Linked DNA regions of Homo sapiens: region 2 is linked to region 1. Evidence: promoter capture Hi-C in 16 types of primary human blood cells and fetal thymus (Javierre and others, 2016). All regions are on one chromosome and are shown on one strand. The core of a region is centred on a gene start or on the middle of the fragment in contact, and the rest is flanking DNA. Distances in the headings are between cores, read along the strand shown.

The links. Contacts are between HindIII fragments. The CHiCAGO score rates a contact against its expected background, and 5 or more counts as called.
Region 2: a contact is called between a fragment that was not itself captured here and the fragment with the promoter of MEIS1-AS2 in region 1, in 1 of 17 cell types (M0 macrophages). The highest score is 7.2, in M0 macrophages.

Annotation. Positions count from the first base shown.
Region 1 is chr2:66,438,780-66,444,369 of GRCh38, forward strand. It overlaps MEIS1-AS2 (MEIS1 antisense RNA 2), which reads right to left and starts at 1,551. Exons shown (of 2, transcript NR_046625.1): 1 at 1,446-1,551; 2 at 308-910. MEIS1 (Meis homeobox 1) reads left to right here. Exons shown (of 13, transcript NM_002398.3): 3 at 1,064-1,205; 4 at 1,783-1,833; 5 at 2,635-2,685; 6 at 4,123-4,269. RefSeq lists enhancers at 662-1,861, 3,661-5,303 and a silencer at 4,878-5,172. The HindIII fragment of the contact is 4,208 bases long and covers 274-4,481 here.
Region 2 is chr2:67,974,743-67,980,137 of GRCh38, forward strand. No RefSeq gene overlaps it. Among named protein-coding and RNA genes, the nearest start is that of C1D, 86 kb to the right of the region's middle. The HindIII fragment of the contact is 1,034 bases long and covers 1,158-2,191 here.

The DNA.
Region 1 (5,590 bases), core at 301-2,800:
TTTCTATTTATTTATTTTTAAAAAATCAGGACACACTGACCCTCCCTCGCTGGAAAAAAAAATATATATAATCTTTTTATTTTATTTTCTGATCCCTTGTGCGATGGGCTTGTTTAATTCCCACCGTTCTGTCCGCAGAGTTAACTACAAGTGGTTTAGGCTCTGGGACAGAACATTTGGGGAAGCTTTGTAAAGGACCCCAAACTGTTAAATTCCCAGCTGAGCTGTGAGAGCTAATAAAAGACTTGAGATACCTCCTTGGGCATTAGAAGAAGCTTTTCTTTCTTTCTTCTTCTTCTTCTTTTTTTTTTTTTTTTCTTTTTTATGGGCTGAGACAAGCGACATCTAGGCCCCTCGCAATACTAGCTGCTTTGCCACTTCGCAGAGACAAAATGAAAGGCTCTACTGCAGGAACATTTGAAGGAACTTTCTTTGGGGGGCGGTGGGGGCTATCAGCGAAGGGAGGGGAATGTGCGTGGAGCTGAGGAGGAGCCTCCCGGCTCTCCGAGGGCCTTGGGGTTGGGATCCCTAGGTGCAGCCCGTTGACAGTCGGCCCCACGGCCATGGACGTCCTTTCCCCAAGTTAGCTGAGCGCCTGCCACCGAGATCCCCCGAGCCTGGGCTTCGCGCGGCCGCCTAGGAGGAACCCGCAGGAACCAGCCCTCCCCAACTCTCCGCCCGGCGCCTTTCTCCTCCACCGGATCCTGGATGTGCAGTGGAGGGGACGAGGGCTTGTCGGGTGGGAAACTTAATTCAAAATGGCTGCTGGAAACGCTTGGGTTTTATTCGTAGCAAATGTTGCCAATTTCTCCGGCCAGATACGCTAAACCGATCCTCAGATACCGTCCATGGCTCAGGGCCTCCGACTTCAGGGCTCCAGGAGGAAGGGGAGGTGAGCGGTCACCTGGGTCTGGGGGAGGGGGAGGAAAAGGAAAAAAGTAGATGACACAATCGGAGAGGGGGTCTGTTCCTCTTGCTCCTCCAGCTGTTTTTCTTGGGCACCTTTTTCCATTGACTGGGGACTAACCATTATGTTGTTTGTGACTGTTGTATTTTCTTGCAGACACCCCCTCTTCCCTCTCTTAGCACTGATTTTTGAGAAATGTGAATTAGCTACTTGTACCCCCCGCGAGCCGGGGGTGGCGGGCGGGGACGTCTGCTCGTCAGAGTCATTCAATGAAGATATAGCCGTGTTCGCCAAACAGGTCAGCAAAATAGATGTTAAAAAGTAAAAGAAACAAAAAGAGAGCCCCCCCTTCGCCAACACACACGCGCGCGCGCGCGCGCGAACACACACACACACACACACACACGGCACACTTTCAAAAGTAGCCAGCACGTAGTCGGCCTTAAGCCATGCATGTTACCTCCAACCTCAGATTTTCTCTCTGTCTGAGTGTCTGTTTGCAGATAACTTAAAATCACCCATCTGCATCCCCACTCACCCTCCAGAAAGCAAACGTGGAGAGCTCACTCTGCAGAATAAAATCAAGAACACCACGGTTGTAGCTGCTGTGGACTCGGCGGTCTGAGCAGCCTCCCCGAGAGCCGTAGTTGCTAGTAGAAGTAAGATTGAGCTCTGGGCTTGTTTTCAGCTTATTTAATTCACACTGAAATGTTTCTGCGCGGGACGAACTCGGTGTCACCGGGTCCCTCCCGGAGGGTTACTTCCTGCCCCCGACAGTGTAATGAGGCAAGAAACTAGGAAGGCGACCAGATTTCAAATTTTTCTTTCTTTTTTCTCTCCCCTCCCTCTCCCCTCTCCTTCTCACTTGTATTTAGATTCGCGCAGAAAAACCTCTATTTTCTTCTAATCCAGAACTGGATAACTTGGTAAGAGCGGACCCCTATTTCCCTCCCCCGCCCCCGACCCCCTACCTCCCACCTCCAACGCCCTCAGCTTTGCTTTGAGAGCCCTGAGATTTCTAGACCGGTCTTCCCGTGCCTGCAGGTTGGCTGCAAATGTTTCTGTACACGGACAACTGGTCCGGGACAAGATCCCGGGGAAATAAATTCATCTCGAGAGGGGCCGGGCGAGCCAGCGCGGGGAAACGCGAGCTTTTGTTTTTTATGACAGCCGGGCTGCGCAGCTCTAATCAGCGCGGGGATTTATCTCCCGGCCTGTCAGCATGTGTGCTTAAACTTTGCGGACTTCCTAGCCCTCTAAGTCCCATCACGAGGGCAGCCACCGGACAAGAGCCCCCAAACAACCAGTTTGCCTGAAAGGTGTAAGGAAGGCAGCAGAAACTTTGCAATGGGAAAAGCCACAGTTTGAGGGCCATTTGGAATATTTTTCTGTCCACTCCTTCCAAGGACACATGTAGTCCAGTGTTGTGGCCCTTTTGGGGTGGGGTGGGGCCAGTGGGACTGAGAAAGGGGAGAGCCATGGGGGAGGAGAGTGTTTATGATCCTCACTTAGATGCTGTGTTGTTGTTTTAGCTAGTTTTTTTTTTCTTAAGAAATATAAACCTCTAGATGGTACCCAGTTGCTGCTATTAAGTTTTAGTGTTATTGCCATAAATCAAAATAACTCTATTTACTGGTGGGAGGGGGTGGGCTGGAGATGGTAGAGCTGTGGCAGCCAGTTTTCTGCAAGCCAGGAATGGGGTGCTTATTGTTTTTGTATCTTTGCAGATGATTCAAGCCATACAAGTATTAAGGTTTCATCTATTGGAATTAGAGAAGGTAATTTCTCTAGCCTCTTTTCCTTTTACTTACCCCTTACCCCCAAACACACAGGGGGGAGGGTTCCGAATGGCTGAAGTTCAGCCTTCTGATACATTTGCATAAATGTCTTTCTTTCTGGTAATTAGTGTCAAGGCCAATCTTAGCGTCCATTTCTCTTCGCAGTTTAATTACAATTTCAGCCACTAAAACTGGGATCACAAACGCCCTAGCCTTGTGTTCATTCTTAATAACTTGCTGGCTTTGTGTAAATAGTTGCAATTCTGTGCATCCCAGCTGATGTTTCGAATGCTGCTCTGAGGTTGTTTCACAAGTTCATACCTCTGTTGTCTCTTCTCATCCTCTTCCTTCTCTTCTTTGCTACCTCTGAGGGAGAAAAAAGTTTTATTCAGTTGTAGTGAGTTTCTGGAAGACAGTCTTGAGAGCAAGGGCAGATCAGACACAGGGGAGAGGCAGAAGGGGAGAAGGAGGAGGAGCGGGAAGGAGTCTGGAGGAGGTGGTGGGGAGGCACATTAAACGTTTTGCAGAGACAAAGCAGAGTTGATAGTTGTGTCAATTTCTTGAATCTGTGAATCCTGCACACACTCCACCTTCACACTCAAGAAAGGGTGTGGGATAACATGATTTTGCTAGCTGTTCTATAAATCTCAGCAATAAAAACTTAATGCATTGTAATTCAAACTAACATTAAATTGCAAGCACACTGGGGTTTCTTGTGAATTTTTGCATGTCAGTGATGCCTGGGACCTCTAGGAAACCTCTGCACTTACACTTAAATATTTTGAGGCATTCCTTCTCCTTTTTGTAAAAAAAAAAAAAAAAAAAAAAAATCAATTTGATATGTTTTTGTGTGGCTGTATGTTTTCCCATATCAGGAGTACTGGCAACTTGATTTCCTTCCATTTTTTTTTCAAAGAAAGTTTTCTAAAATATACCCCTTAGAGATAAAAACCTTCATTACAAATATAATAAGGACTTGGGTTGTCAGGCATTTATCCTATGCCACCACAGTACAGGTTCTTTGGAGAATATATATGTGCATATATACACACGTATACATTTTTTTCTTAGACACATTAGAAAGGGATTTATGATAAAGTCACTGGATGAAATTAAATAGTTTACCTTAAATGTCACCTACGCAGGTCACCTCTCTAATGACCACAGCCCCAGGAGCAGATGAATTTAACACGGGTGTTGAATATGTTGTAGCCTGTGAATCATCTTGTCACTGTCAATTTTCTGGGATATCTCTATTTTGCAAGAAAAGAAAGTTATTCCTAATTCTGGATGCGTCTGGGGGTCTCTGGAGGACAATTGCCCTGTGTTTCCCCTATTTGGAAGTTTGGATCTCACAAGGGGGGTGGATTGCACTTGTCAATGTCATTTATGCACTCCTGATTATATTCCCATTTTTTTATTTCTGTCATAATGTAGGTACACGAATTATGTGACAATTTCTGCCACCGGTATATTAGCTGTTTGAAAGGGAAAATGCCTATCGATTTGGTGATAGACGATAGAGAAGGAGGATCAAAATCAGACAGTGAAGATATAACAAGATCAGCAAATCTAACTGACCAGGTATGCGCTTTTCAATTTCAACATCCCTGGGAAAAAAAAAAATCTGTATGCATATTGCTTGCTGGGTCACTACCACCTCCTTTTATTATTTGCATATGATTAAGTCCCTTTTAGATACATTTCCATCGAAATGAAAATTTTTGAATAATGTGGCTATTATTGCTTCATTAAGGCTGGCTCTGGGATTCGACCTGAAGAGATGAGCTTGTAAAAGCTTTGCTAGCAAACTTGACCTGTTTCTTGTCGCTTTTAATTTTTGTCTTTATTTTATTTACCCTCTATAATAATGGGAGTGTTAACTGCCAGTGACCGCCTCTGATTGTAGGGGCTTTGTTCCGGAGCATTTTTCCCCCTTCTATCTTCAAGAAAAGACAAGTGTAGGGTCTGCTTATTTCTTATTTTATTAGGAATAAATCCAAGATAGGTGGTCTAAGAAAGACAGCGAGAGTTTGAAATCTAGCAAATGCTGGCTATTTTCTCCCTGTCTGTACGGTTCATTAGCCTGTCTTGTCAGTTTTCCTCGGCCGAACGCTTCTAGACCTCACTGAACATTGCTTTGTGTGGTGTTCACTGCAAGCTCACCCATTTTATTGTACTTAATAGAAAAAATAAGACCAGGCCGAGGTTATAAAAACAGATAAATATGGACTTTTCTCCTCCTTCTTTCCACTCATCCTCCAGCTGGTATGTGCTCTGGGCCCTCTGGGTTGGCAGCTTGTGGACATATCAGCATCAGGGGCACCCCGGCGGCTCCCTGGGTAAGGAGTGTGGGGGACCTCGCACCGCCTTTGCTCTCAACTGAGGGCCTTGGCTTGCTGCACCCTCTCCTCTCCTGTCTTCCCTCCAGGCCCTTCTTCCGATGCGTTACTAAGTGGGGACGACTTTTATTTGGAATTGCTGTGGGGATTTCTCTCTCTCTGTCACCCCAACACCACCGTTTGCTCCCAGGGTGCCTCTCTCTCTCCTGTGGCTGTATCTCTGGATTGGTCCAAAGGAGTTGCAAAAATGCAATGAAAGTGAAAACGTGTAGAGTGAGTGAGATGAAACAGGGCTCAGAACAGTTCCGTTGCGAATTGTTGCAAGGCGTCTAGAGATTTGGGTAGCTGGCCTGCTCTGCACCCTCCCACCCTTCCCCCCTATATAAGTGAAGTCCCAGTGTTGTTTCTCTTTCTGACTCGGCACGTGAGTCCAGATTTGGGGGAAGAGATCAGCCTGCCTTTGTTAAGCCAAAGGCCAGCTACTCTGCAAGCTCTGCCATGATCTCTGTTGGCCAGTGGCTGTCTTGTACAGTCCTTGTCGAGCGCCTGACGCCTGGTTCTTA
Region 2 (5,395 bases), core at 425-2,924, 1.5 Mb after region 1:
TTGTAAGCTCATTTTTGAAGATTTGTCACAAAGCAGGAACTGGAAGGAGAAACATGTTTTATTTTGTTATACAATGAAGTTCTTTGTCCAACAAATAGATGTGATAATATCACTGTGTTGGATACATTCTACCATTCTCCTAAGTGGTTGGGGCTGCTTTTTAAATTTTTGCACCTTCAGTCTGGTTGAGAGCACTGAAAGAATGGTGCTAAAAGCCTCTTTTCAGACACATCAGGGGCATTCTTTTGTTTGAATTTACTTCCCCTTTCCCACCCAGTCCCTGGCACCAAACACAGCCTTACAAATCAGCTCCGACTGGCAGGAGGAATGAAGTCAGCAGGAGCTGGTGCCAAGTTCCTCTTGGGCTCCATTCACCCAAGCCTCGCTAACCTTTTCTCCACATAGAAGGGGCATCTCCACTGCTCTCAGAAACACAACTTTGTACACACGCCAAATTGCTTTTGGGGGCAGTTACAGCAGAGATCCTCCCACTTTCATTTTACCTAGACTGTGTCACATGGAGCCAAGCACTTTGCAATTTACCACCTTTTCCCTCGATTTAATATTAGAAGCTCTATCTGATTCTGAGGCTGTTTTCTGGAAGGGCACTCCAAATGAGGAAACGTCTCTGTAAACTAAGGACAACGAAAAGGACTTTATCTGACCAACAATTTACTGTCTCCTGCTGGATTAGAGCGCTCACTCACATGAGCACTGCAGTTTTATAAAACACACAGAAGCATATGACCATGTAAAGACATGATCCTTCATGGTATTTCCCGGCTGCCGGTGAATACATTTTTAGGCACCACGACTTTGAATTCACTCAGCTGCATGATTTAGAGCCACTGGTCCCAAGCAGGATAATTTTCCCACCACCCCCCAGCCTGCCCCTTAGGGACATTTGTCAATATCTGGAGATGGTTTTGATTGAATCAACCAAATGGGATTGCTGCTGGCATCTAGTGGGTAGACGCCAGGGTTACCGCTACACATTCAGCAATGCACAGCACAGCCCCCATAACCAAACAAAGAATTATCTGGCCCCCCCAAATGTCCAAGTGCTGAGGTTGAGAAACCTTGATTAAAGGAAAGCATAGGGCTTTTGATGTCAGATAATTCAGGATTTGAATCTGATCCACAGCCTAGGCTATCCAAGCTTCAATTCTTCTTCTTTAAACTTAAAATGATCCTATCCTACCTGCCTTACTGAATCACTGGGAGGATCGAATGAGAGTAGAACCTGTAAAGAATGTAGTACTTAGCAAACACCGCGTGCTAAAAAAAAAAAAAGTTTTTTCTTTCCTCTTTACTCCCTGCTTTATACTGTTAATACCTCCTTTGAGACTACAGAGTCTCAGCAGCCGTTTTTCTCTTCCTTATCGCTGGAAATCAGCATTGTAGCAAATATCCACTCTGCTTTCTTGCAAACACTGATTCTCTGGTCTAGTGGGGCTGGCTACCACACAGCCTTGACTCTCCCATCACAGGTGTGACGACAAGGCCCAGAGTATCCCAAGCCCTAACCACAAAGATGGTTTCAGAGGAGAGACCACAACCCAAGCCTGACCAATCATGGCCACCCCAAGGACTATAGCTGGAGCCCTCAGGAAATAGACACTCTTTTTTTTAATCTGGAATTAATCAGAAAATGTGAAAACAAAGTAAGTTCGTAGCTGACAGTAGCTATCTTTGCCACTGGAAAGAACTGAATCAAGGCAGAATCAAAGTGCAGAAATGAGACATGGTAGAGTCAGGGGTGGGAGGGGAGATGGGGTTCCCATGATAGCTTTCCATGACCTTTTAGCTTACATTAGTTTGAGTTAGGTTTCTGTGACTTGAAACTCAAGGATTTATGACTAATAGAGCTTGTAGATGGGGTTAGAACGCACAGGATGTCAGTATAGTAACCAGCCTACAGATATCTACTGAGTGCCATGCAAGGTCCTGATAAGGACAAAAGATATCATTCCTGTCCTCAAGATGTTTCTAATCTTGGTGAGTAAACAAATACCTAGCAAAAAGATACCGTTACAAGGTTGTGGAAATGCCAAGAGAATCACAGGCCATATTGCTGATAAATTGGGTGTGGAGAGGTGAGAGAGACATTTTTCTCTATTGGAAAAAAAAGGGGACACTTTGTAGAGGAAGTGACTTAGCTGGCACCTCTCCCTAGCTGCCCAAGCCAAGAAGCTTCCCTTTCACTACCCCAGGAACATAAGCTGAGAACCGAAGAGGACTCTTACTCCTCCAAGGGGCTCCGCTCTTGCTGGACTGTGACCACCCCAGACCTGGTAAGCCAGGACCTCTGTTCATTGGCCCAGTGGCTACTCTCCTCCTGGGCATTGTCCACTACACTCCTATTGATCTACCCCCAAAGTACACAGACCCTCCATGACCTCTCCTCTGCATTCCTACCATCCACACCATGTGTAGTGTTTCCTTGCCCCAGACCCAAACCCCTACTCCTAACTTCCCTTCCAAATCCTTCCACTGTTCCCTCTAGACCTCTTACTCCAATATCAGCAAATACCTGCACCTCTCCTATCCTCCAAATGTTCTTTCCTTCCTTTTCTATACTGAGAATCAGCTGTCTGTTGAACACAAATTTCCTCTGAAACTCTGTTGCATTCTTCTCAAACCTCACAGTCAGGAGGTAATGTTATTCCCAGTGCTGCTTCCAGGCAGTTACTGCTCTGGCCTCTGGCCAAGATCCCTGATCCTTTGAGGATCCAGGCTTCTGGTCCTGCCACCTCTTCTCCTCTTCATTGCTGTCATCTACAGATCTCCTGACTCACAGCATTTTTCTTCACCCAATTCTTGCTATCTTTCCCAGTGACTTCAACCCCTGTGTGAAATTCTTATCCACCACCATGTGTGTCCATCCCCTGGCATGGTCACCACACTGCCCAGCTCCAGGAACATAAAGAACATTGTCATTGATGTGAATGGTGCCCACTGTAATTTTGCATTGCACACCCCACACACGCTTATGCAGTGTCCCAGGGCCTTGATCTCATCTCCAGCCACCTGCTCCTCCCACCAACTGAGCCACTGCCTCCTTAACCACACCCTTATCTCTGCATCACTCTAACATTATTAATTCAAACATCCCAGTCCCTTCAAGTTACTAGCTCGAGTACCCTCACAAGAAGTCTTTCCCTACAGAAAATTAGGAAATCCATGATCCTTTCACCTTCTATCAGTCCTTCCTGCTTTCACATCTTTCTTAACTCATCCTGGAGTTTAGAGTCTACCATTATCAATTATTCCCTGGAAAAGATTCATAGTCAATTGCTGCCTTCATTCTATTCCACTTGCCTGATAAAACCCCAGTCCTGAAAGATCCAAATCACTGCTATCCCCAACTATCTGTATCCTGGAAGCAGTATTTCCAGTGAATATCACAAAACAGGACATACAGTATTCGCCTAAATCATGACACTTTCCTCTCTATCATCACACATGTCTCCTAAATCTTCCTTCTTAGTGCCTCCTGGGTGCACGGTCTTCTCTCTAACTTAATGTCTCCAACGAGGTCTGCACAGCATCATCAGCCACACAGACAACTGAAATAGCACAGAGTAAGTTCTAAAACACTAATATCATGTCATTCCTTTGTCACTGCCTAAACATCTTCAACAAGGTACCCTTGTTATTAAGATAAAATCAGAAATTCTAATGGTGTACACTTGTTATTAGGATAAAATCAGAAATTCTTATCACAGAATTGCATCACCTGCCCTGCTTACATATCTACTCAGATTCCATGCTCCCCTTTCTGTGAATAGCCCTGTACAGTAGCCACCTTGACTTTCCTCAAAGTTGTCTTGCTCCTTTTGACCCCCAGAGCCTTCTGACAAGCTGCCCCTTCTGTCTACAAGGCCCCTCCCCAACCTTGCTTAGCTTATTCCAGCTCATCCTAAGCTCTCAGCATCAACACCTTGAACTCAGAGATACCTTCTCTAACCTTCCTTCCCCTACACAGCATGCACAAGGTCAAGTTACATTGACCAATGATCTCTTGATATACCATACTTGCCCTTTAAAAACATTTATCACAAATTATCACTTATCACAACACTTACCACTTGTGTTACTAATTGTTTGAAGTCTACTTTCTAGACTAGAAAGTAAGCTCCATGAGGGACAGTAACTGAGTATTTTGTTCACTGCTGTATCCCCAATGCCTTGTACAGAATAGGTGATCCATAAAGACTTGATGAAGATGAGTAATTCACTGAGTGAATGATAATATGAGCTTGGCCTTGAAAGATAAGCAGGATTCAGGTGAACAAAAAGGATGAGATTTTCATTAGCAATGTGCAGGGTGTGAAAGTGGATAATGAGCCAACCAATTCTTATTGAATGCTATTGAATGTGCAAGCTTCTTGCTAATGACTAGAAATTTCTATGCGCATAACAGACAATAATGAGCTTGGAAGACATATGTTTCAGAAACACCCAACTCCTATTTGTAGAAACATCTACTATTGTTTTGTCCAGAATGGACCTAGGAGTTAGAACTGGGGGTCCAAGGGATATACATATTGACATATCATATGTCAATATCATATGTCATATCATGTAACAATAGAGTCAGTGGAAGAGACCCTTTCAGCATTTTTCAGACAGGAATATCTGCAACATCTCTGCTCAATTCCACAGGCAGGTAATCCCCAACCAAGAGATGCTGTAAACCACTCCCTTTAGAGGAGAAAGATATAGCCTCTTAGCTGCCCATACATAAACACAGAAGATATAAACACATACCACTATCTTCAACTTGAAGTGACACTGAAGAAAACACACAGTGTATGGCAAAAAATAGAAAACAGAAGGAGCATTAAAAATAGAAACAGAAAAAAAGATGGCCCTAGAATTGAAAATATGTCACAACACATAGTTCCATAAGATTTCTTTTAAAATGGCAATCACTACCCTCTCATCCCATGCTTCCCAGAAGCAAACACTTCCAAATCTTGTAGCAGATTATTTTTCCATTTGTTTCTATGCCTCTAAATAACAAGCTTGTACTAGTCTACTACTTCTTGATATTTAAGTTCAGAATTCTCTACTGACTTCCAACTATCTAAATGAGGATTCAACTTTTTTTCATTGCCCTCAGTCTCTGGCATTTACCCTAACACCATTTCAACCTAACACATACTTTCAATCCCCTGTCCTCTCAACAAGCTGTTTCATAATTTTGAGTAAATTGATATTAAATGCTAATATTATCATGTCTATGTAAATAATATTCACCAATTAGGTTGGGCACAGCGGCTCACGCCTATAATCCCAGCACTTTGGGAGGCCGAGGCAGGCAGATCACGAGGTCAGGAGATTGAGACCATCCTGGCCAACATGGTGAAACCCCGTCTCTACTAAAAAT